Regions from separate parts of the Homo sapiens genome. Here regions 1 and 2 are each linked to region 3. Evidence: promoter capture Hi-C in 16 types of primary human blood cells and fetal thymus (Javierre and others, 2016). All regions are on one chromosome and are shown on one strand. The core of a region is centred on a gene start or on the middle of the fragment in contact, and the rest is flanking DNA. Distances in the headings are between cores, read along the strand shown.

What was found. Contacts are between HindIII fragments. The CHiCAGO score rates a contact against its expected background, and 5 or more counts as called.
Region 1: a contact is called between a fragment that was not itself captured here and the fragment with the promoter of AS3MT in region 3, in 4 of 17 cell types (erythroblasts, M0 macrophages, M1 macrophages and 1 more). The highest score is 7.4, in erythroblasts.
Region 2: a contact is called between a fragment that was not itself captured here and the fragment with the promoter of AS3MT in region 3, in 1 of 17 cell types (erythroblasts). The highest score is 7.6, in erythroblasts.

Annotation. Positions count from the first base shown.
Region 1 is chr10:103,317,905-103,320,604 of GRCh38, forward strand. The region is part of intron 8 of PCGF6 (polycomb group ring finger 6); the gene reads right to left. Among named protein-coding and RNA genes, the nearest start is that of PCGF6, 32 kb to the right of the region's middle. The HindIII fragment of the contact is 3,787 bases long and covers 1-2,700 here.
Region 2 is chr10:103,258,037-103,260,736 of GRCh38, forward strand. No RefSeq gene overlaps it. Among named protein-coding and RNA genes, the nearest start is that of RPEL1, 14 kb to the left of the region's middle. The HindIII fragment of the contact is 4,680 bases long and covers 1-2,700 here.
Region 3 is chr10:102,868,035-102,870,734 of GRCh38, forward strand. AS3MT (arsenite methyltransferase) reads left to right here and starts at 1,436. Exons shown (of 11, transcript NM_020682.4): 1 at 1,436-1,559; 2 at 1,771-1,811; 3 at 2,050-2,177. The coding sequence starts at 1,559. It overlaps BORCS7-ASMT (BORCS7-ASMT readthrough (NMD candidate)), which reads left to right. Exons shown (of 15, transcript NR_037644.1): 6 at 1,771-1,811; 7 at 2,050-2,177. It also overlaps the pseudogene LOC124902567. The HindIII fragment of the contact is 4,429 bases long and covers 236-2,700 here.

The DNA.
Region 1 (2,700 bases), core at 184-2,683, 450 kb after region 3:
TGCATCACCACGCATGGCTAATTTTGTATTTTTAGTAGACACGGGGTTTCTCATCTTGGTCAGACTGGTCTCGAACTCCCGAACTCAGGCAATCCGCCCACTTCAGCCTCCCAAAGTGCTGGGATTACAGGCATGAGCCACCGCACCCAGCTGGGGTTGGTCAGTTTCTAAGAGTTTGATGTGTATGGTCCTAGAACACTATGTGTGCATGTGGGTTTTTCTGTTATTCATTTTTTGCTTTAAAAAAAATGGGATCAACTGGGTGCGGTGGCTCACGCCTGTAATCCCAGCACTTTGGGAGGCCGAGACGGGCAGATCACCTGAGGTCAGGAGTTCGAGACCAGCTTGGCCAACATGGCAAAACCCTGTCTCTACAAAAAATACAAAAATAAGCTGGGTGTGGTGGCAGACACCTGTAATCCCAGCTACTCAGGAGGCTGAGGCAGGAGGATCACTCAAACCTGGGAGTCAGAAGTTGTAGTGAACCGAGATCGCGCCACTGCACTCTAGCCTGGGTAACAGAGGGAGACTCCATCTCAAAAAAAAAAAAAGAAAAAAGTGCGGGTGCGGTGGCGCACACCTGTAATCCTAGCACTTTGGGAGGCTGAGGCAGGCGGATCACAAGGTCAGCAGTTCAAGACCAGCCTGGCCAAGATGGTAAAACCCTGTCTCTACCAAAAATACAAAAAAATTAGCCGGGCATGGTGGCGGTCGCCTGTAATCCCAGCTACTCAGGAGGCTGAGGCAGAGAATGGCTTGAACCTGGGAGGCAGAGGCTGCAGTGAGCTGAGATGGCACCACTGCACTCCAGCCTGGGCGACAGAGCGAGACTCTGTCTGAAAAAAAAAAAGAAAAAAGAAAAAAAAAGTTGGTTTTGTTGGCACTCGCTGTCTAACAACTACCAAATTGCAGTTAGAAAACTTTTCACATTAGTGTAGGAAACTTTTTGCAGGCCTAGTTCCTCGATAGCCAAAGGCCAGCTTTGTAAGCAGGCCCTTCTAACGACAGCAGCCTCAAGGCTGATACGTTAACTCTTTTGTGCATAATATCTTACCCTCTGGAGTATCAAGAAGAGATAACAAAAATATTTTTGAATCTCAGAGCAGAAATCAGACCATGAAAGTAGTCTTATTAAAAGGAGAAAAAGTCCTCATCTTTTTAAAAGCAAGATCATGCTAGAGCTTCCAAGTTAAGATTTTTCAATCAGTGTGCTTTGATAAGCCACACTGGCTCATTCCTTTGATCATACATACTCTTCTTTTCGAGATGGAGTCTCACTCTGCCGCCCAGGCTGGAATGCAGTGGTGGGATCTCGGCTCACTGCCACCTCCGCCTCCTGGGTTCAAGCGATTCTCCTGCCTCAGCCTCCTGAGTAGCTGAGACTACAGGCGTACCACCATGCCCAGCTAATTTTTTTTTTGTATTTTTAGTAGAGACGGGGTTTCACCATGTTGGCCAGGATGGTCTCGATCTCTTGACCTTGTGATGTGCCCGCCTCGGCCTCCCAAAGTGCTGGGATTACAAGCGTGAGCCACCGGACCTGGCCATACATACTCTTCTTTGCTACTAAGTTCTTTTTTTCTGTGTCTGGCAAATTCCTATTTGTTCTTCAAACCCATTCCTGAGTTAAATCATTCACTTTTGTGTTATCTCCACTGTTGCATTCATTACATCCTATTGTTAGTTAGTTGTTTACTTATATATCTTTCCTACAAAATTCTGAGTCCCCTGATGGCATGAATTTTGTCTCATCTTTGTACTCCTAAGGTCAAATACATAGACCCTCAATTTAGTAACAATATATAATAAATGGTATGGAAACATCATATATTAGTCCTTAAAAAATTATTTGGAAACTAAATTTAATAGAAGGCTTAATATCATACACCAAATAAGTAATAATAATAACCTAACTTTTTTGAGATGGAGTCTTGCTCTGTCGCCAGGCTGTAGTGCAGTGGTGCGATCTCGGCTCACCGCAACCTCCACCTCCTGGATTCATGTGATTCTCCTGCCTCATCTTCCCGAGTAGCTGGGACTATACAGGTGCATACCACCATGCCCAGCTAATTTTTGTATTTTTAGTAGAGATGGGGTTTCACCATGTGGGCCAGGATGGTCTCCATCTCTTGACCTCGTGATCCGCCCGCCTCAGCCTCCCAAAATGCTGAGATTACAGGTATGAGCCACCATGCCTGGCCAGCCTAACTTTTAAGATGGAATTAGTTATGGCAGGATTAACAAAATCAAATATCACATCTTATAGAAGAATTTTTAGTGATCAATGTGAGGTGTATGTTCTAAATTTCATCTCATAAAAGCAAAATAAGGTCTGAATATCAAACAAAGCAAAATACAATAAGACATCAAAGAGTAAATACCACTAAATCAACCACAGTAACCCTGAGACACTGGAGTCTCTATGAGAAAGAAACATATTTGGATAATTATTGATCTCTAAATTTTAAATGAACTTAAATCTTTCTTAAGAACACATGATGGCCGGGCGCGGTGGCTCACACTTGTAATCCCAGCACTTTGGGAGGCCGAGGTGGGCAGATTGCCTGAGGCTGGGAGTTCAAGACCAGCCTGGCCAACATGGAGAAACTCTGTCTACTAAAAAAACTAGAAAATTAGCCAGGCATGGTGGCGCATGCCTGTAATCCCAGCTACTCAGGAGGCTGAGGCAGGATAATCGCT
Region 2 (2,700 bases), core at 62-2,561, 390 kb after region 3:
TTTCCTTCTTTTTTTCTGGTCCTACCTTTTTTCTCCTCTGTCTGTGTTTTGGGCCCACCAGGGGCCCCCTATAGCACTACAAGTGAAACCAGTGGGGTCTAAGTCATAACACTTCTTATAAAGAAGGATTGCACCAGGACCAGCCCACATAGCCAAATTCCTTTTTCTGTTGTCCCCAGAAAGCCACGTTAAGGACTCCCTTGCTGTTCTAAGCAGACTGCTTCTTTCACACATTTCCTCCCACCACCCAATGAAGGGCAGGGGCTGTGCTTTACATATTACATCTTTGTAACCCCCTCCCCTCCCTTACTGCACAAGGCTTTCCAAATAGTCTTTAGATGTCAACCTTGGATGCAGATTTTAACACACACATATTCTGCATTTTTTTTTTTTTTTTGAGACGGAGTTTCGGTCTTGTTGCCCAGGCTGGAGTGCAATGGCGTGATCTCGGCTCACTGCAACCTCTGCCTCCTGGGTTCAAGTGATTCTCCTGCCTCAGCCTCCCAAGTAGCCGGGATTACAGGCATGTGCCACCACGCCTGGCTAATTCTGTTTTTTTTTTTTAGTAGAGACAGGGTTTCACCATGTTGGCCAGGCTGGTCTCAAACTCCCGACCTCAGGTGATCTGCCTGCCTCGGCCTCCCAAAGTGCTGGGATTACAGGCATGAGCCACCATGCCTGGCCCATATTCTGCATTTTAATACACATTCTACATGTTGCCAGTAGATATTTGATATGGCTTGGCTCTGCCCCCACCCAAATCTCATCTTGAATTCCCACATGTTATGGGAGGAACATGGTGGGAGGTGATTGAATCATGGGGGTGGGTCTTTCTTGTGCTGTTCTGATGATAATGAGTAAGTCTCACAAGATCTGATGGTTTTAAAAAATGGGAGTTTCCCTGAACAAGCTCTCCACTCTTGTCTGCTGCCATGTGAGACATGCCTTTTACCTTCCGCCATGATTGTGAGGCCTCCCCACCCATGTGAAACTGTAAGTCCAATAAACCTCTTTCTTTAGTAAATTGTCCAGTCTCGGGTATGTCTTTATCAGCAGTGTGAAAATGGACTAATACAGTAAATTGGTACCGAGAGTGGGGTGCTACTGAAAAGATACCCGAAAATGTGGAAGCAACTTTGGAACTGGGTAACAGGCAGAGGTTGGAATAATTTGGAGGGCTCAGAAGAAGACAGGAAAATGTGGGAAAGTTTGGAACTCCCTAGAGACTTGTTGAATGGCTTTGACCAATATGCTGATAATGATATGGACAATGAAATCCAGGCTGAGATGGTCTCAGATGGAGATGAGGAAGTTATTGGGAACTAGAGCAAAGGTGACTCTTGTTATGTTTTAGCAAAGAGACTGGTGGCATTTTGCCCCTGCCCTGGAGATTTGTGGAACTTTGAACTTGAGAAAGGTGATTTAGGGTTTCTGGCAGAAGAAATTTCTAAGCAGCAAAGCATTCAAGAGGTGACTTGGGTGTTGTTAAAAGCATTCAGTTTTAAAAGGGAAACAGAGCATAAAAGTTTGCAAAATTTGTAGTCTGACAAGCAATAAAGAAGAAAAACCCATTTTCTGAGGAGCAATTCAAGCCAGCTGCAGAAATTTGCTTAAGTAATAAGGAGCCTAATATTAATCTCTGACAGTGGGAAAAATGTCTCCAGGGCAGGTCAGAGGTCCTCACAGCAGACCCCCCACCCCCAATCACAGGCCTGGAGGTTTAGGAGAAAAAAAATAGTTTAGTGGGCCAGGCCCAGGGTCCCTCTGATGTGTGCAGTCTAGGGACTTTGTGCCCTGCAACCCAGCTGCTGCAGCTGTGACTAAAAGGGGCCAAGTTGCAGCTCAGGTTGTTGCTTTAGAGGGTGGAAGCCCCAAGCCCTGGCAGCTTCTACGTGGTGTTGAGCCTGCAGGTGAACAGAAGTCAAGAATTGAGGTTTGGGAACCTCTGCCTAGATTTCAGAAAATGTATGGAAATGTCTGAATGCCCAGGCAGAAGTTTGCTGCAGGGGCGGGGCCCTCATGGAGAACCTCTTCTAGGACAGTGCAGAAGGGAAATGTGGGGTCCAAGCCCCCATGTAGAGTCCCTGCTGGAGCACCACCTAGTGGAGCTGTGAGAAGAGGGCCACCATCCTCCAGACTCCAGAATAGATCAACCGACAGCTTGCACTTTGCACCTGGAAAAATCGGACATTCAACATCAGCCTGTGAAAGCAGCCAAGAGGGCGGATATACCCTGCAAAACCACAGAGGCAGAGCTTCCCAAAGCCATGGGAGCCTACCTCTCGCATCAGCATGTCCTGGAAGTGAGTCACAGAGTCAAAGGAGATCATTTTGGAGCTTTAAGATATGACTGGGGGCCGGGCGTGGTAGATCACACCTGTAATCCCAGCACTTTGGGAGGCTGAGGCAGGTGGATCATGAGGTCAGGAGATCAAGACCACCCTGGCTAACACAGTGAAACCCCATCTCTACTAAAAATACAAAAAATTAGCCGGGCGTGGTGGTGGGTGCCTGTAGTCCCAGCTACTCTGGAGGCTGAGGCAGGAGAATAGTGTGAACCCAGGAGGCGGAGCTTGCAGCGAGCCGAGATCCTGCCACTGCACTCCAGCCTGGGCGACAGACCGAGACTCCATCACACACACACACACACACAAAAGATATGACTGCCCCACTGGATTTCAAACTTGCCTAGGGCCTGTA
Region 3 (2,700 bases), core at 186-2,685:
TTTTGTATTATTGGCAACTGAGATTGAAAAATGAATGAAAGAGTCTACTTCATCCATTTAGATATCCTTTCACTTGGATCTCCCTGTTTCCTTACTGTCCTAATGAATAGAAATGATCGTTACAAGCTGGGCATGGTGGCTTGCACCTGTAGTCCCAGCTACTGGGGAGGCTGAGGAGGGAGGATGGCTTGAGGCCAGAGTTGAAGGATCCAGAGATGATTGCGCAGTGACGCTAAGCTTGGGCCACAGAGTTGAGACCCTGTCTCTAAAAATTTTTTTTTAATTTAAATTATAAAAAGAGAAATGCTTGTTACAACCACAAAGGGAAACAAGATATACACATATAATTGTGGAAGTAAAAATAAATAATTTAAAAATACTTTTGGGTGCTCGCTTCGGCAGCACATATAGTTGGAATGATAGAGAAGATTTGCATGGCCCCTGCGCAAGATGACATACAAATTCGTGAAGTGTTCCATATTTAAAAAAACAAAAAATACTTTTGGGCCTGGCACTGTGGCTCATGCCTGTAATCCAAACACTTTGGGAGGCTGAGGCGGGCGGATTGCTTGAACCCAGGAGTTGGAGACCAGCCTGGACAACATGGTGAAATCCCGTCTCTATAAAAAAATACAAAAATTAACCAGGTGTGGTGGTGCACGCCTGTAATCCAAGGTACTTGGGAGGCTGAGGCGGGAGGATCGCTTGAGCCAGGAGGTTGGGCCTGGGTAACAGAGACCGTCTCAAAAAAATTTAAAAATTAAAAAAAAAACTTTCTGCAAGATGAAGTGACAATACCTGGAAAATACATGTGACTTGACCAAAAATTACTATAGGTGAAAATAAATTTAGCAAAGTTGCTTTCCTAAATACAACCCAAAATAGACTGGGAACAGCTACATACTGTTAATGGTTCCCTCTATGTGACATTCTAGAAAAGGCAGAACTATAGGGAGGGAAAACATCTGTGGTTGCCCAGGAGCTAGGGGTGGGAAGAGGGAATTTACTACAAAGAGGCACGAAGAAACTTGTGGGCCAGAGCTATTTTGGTCTCCGTTTTGGTGATGTATATACGTTTGCCAGAGTTCACAGAACTGCACACTGAAGAAAGATGGATTTCACGGAATGTGAATTATATCTCAACAAACTTGACTTCAAAAAACAGATCGAGAAAAGATGATTCTATTCCCAAAAAGGGGGAGGGGGGAAGATCATTATATAGGTGAGTGTTCATTTAAATCAGAGTACGAGATTTATCCGTGAAAATCGCAGTGGAGCGAACAAGGGGGATGCTGATACCGACCTCCTGGTTGGAAAGCCTGTAGAGCAGCGCGGATGACAGTGGAACAGCGGGTCAGGCGGTGGGCGCCTGAGCGAGGGGCTAGAGCGGGATGGGCGGGCGGAGCAAGCCTGCCAGCCTGGGCGGGGCCTCGGCACAGGAGCTGGCTGCGGGAGCCCGCCGTCCTGAGTCGCAGGCCGAGGAGACAGTGAGTGCGCGCCCTGAGTCGCAGGCCGAGGAGACAGTGAGTGCGCGCCCTGAGTCGCAGGCCGAGGAGACAGTGAGTGCGCGCCCTGGGCGCCCCGCCCCAGCCCCCAGCCCCTTCCCTGGGCCCCCGCAAGGCGGGAACGCGAGCGCCTCCCCCGAGCTGTGTCTCGAGACCTTTGTCCTCCCCTCACCCCTCGGCCCGCTGCCTGCCCTTTACTGGCCCCCTCCCTCATGCCCGTCCCTCAGCACCCTCTCCTTTCAACTAACTTTCCCGCTCCCGACAGTGGCTGCACTTCGTGACGCTGAGATACAGAAGGACGTGCAGGTGAGAGCTGTAGGGCCTGGAATGGCCCAAGTGGAGCCTAGGCTAATGGAAGTCTGGCCTGGCCCGCACCCTGTCCCCCGGGACTCCTGGAGTCGGGGTAGGGCAGGGTCTAGGCTTCGACCTTTCCAGGGAACTGAGGTCGGCCAAGTGGAGGTGGAGGTGGTGACGGAGCCCTCGCGCTGCAGTCACAGCTCTTCTCCCTCTCTACCCCTCACTCCACTGTGGGACGCTGGGTCAGACCTACTACGGGCAGGTGCTGAAGAGATCGGCAGACCTCCAGACCAACGGCTGTGTCACCACAGCCAGGCCGGTCCCCAAGCACATCCGGGAAGCCTTGCAAAATGTACACGAAGAAGTAGCCCTAAGGTAGAGTGCCCTGTGCTGTCCCCAGGAAGACCCCAAACAGCAGTTTTCCCAAAAGATAATGATGCAGGTCACTAGGGAATTAACCCGTAGCCACCAACCCATCAGCTTGCCTTGTCTATTGTAAAAATCCTAAATCTCAGCACCCATCATCTTACTGCTCTAAGAACCTCCGATGAGTCTGGGCGCGCCAGTGAGCCTGTAGTCCCAAGTGCTTGGGAGGCTGAGGCAGAGGATCGCGTGAGCCCAGAAGTTACAGGCTGTAGTGTGCGATCCGGGATGTGAATAGCCACTGCACTCCAGCTTGGTCAACATAGCCAGATGCATCTCTAAAATAAATGCGTACTTTAAAAAAATTGCCTAAAAAAAAGAACCTCCAGCGTGAACACTCTGTAGTCCCTACCCATGCTCACAGAATACAGTCACACTCACTGGATCTGCCATTCAAGATATGCGCAGTTCAGCACCCACTAATCAACCTTGGCCCTTTTGACCCTTCCCTTCCTCACTCCATCAGCACTGCCTG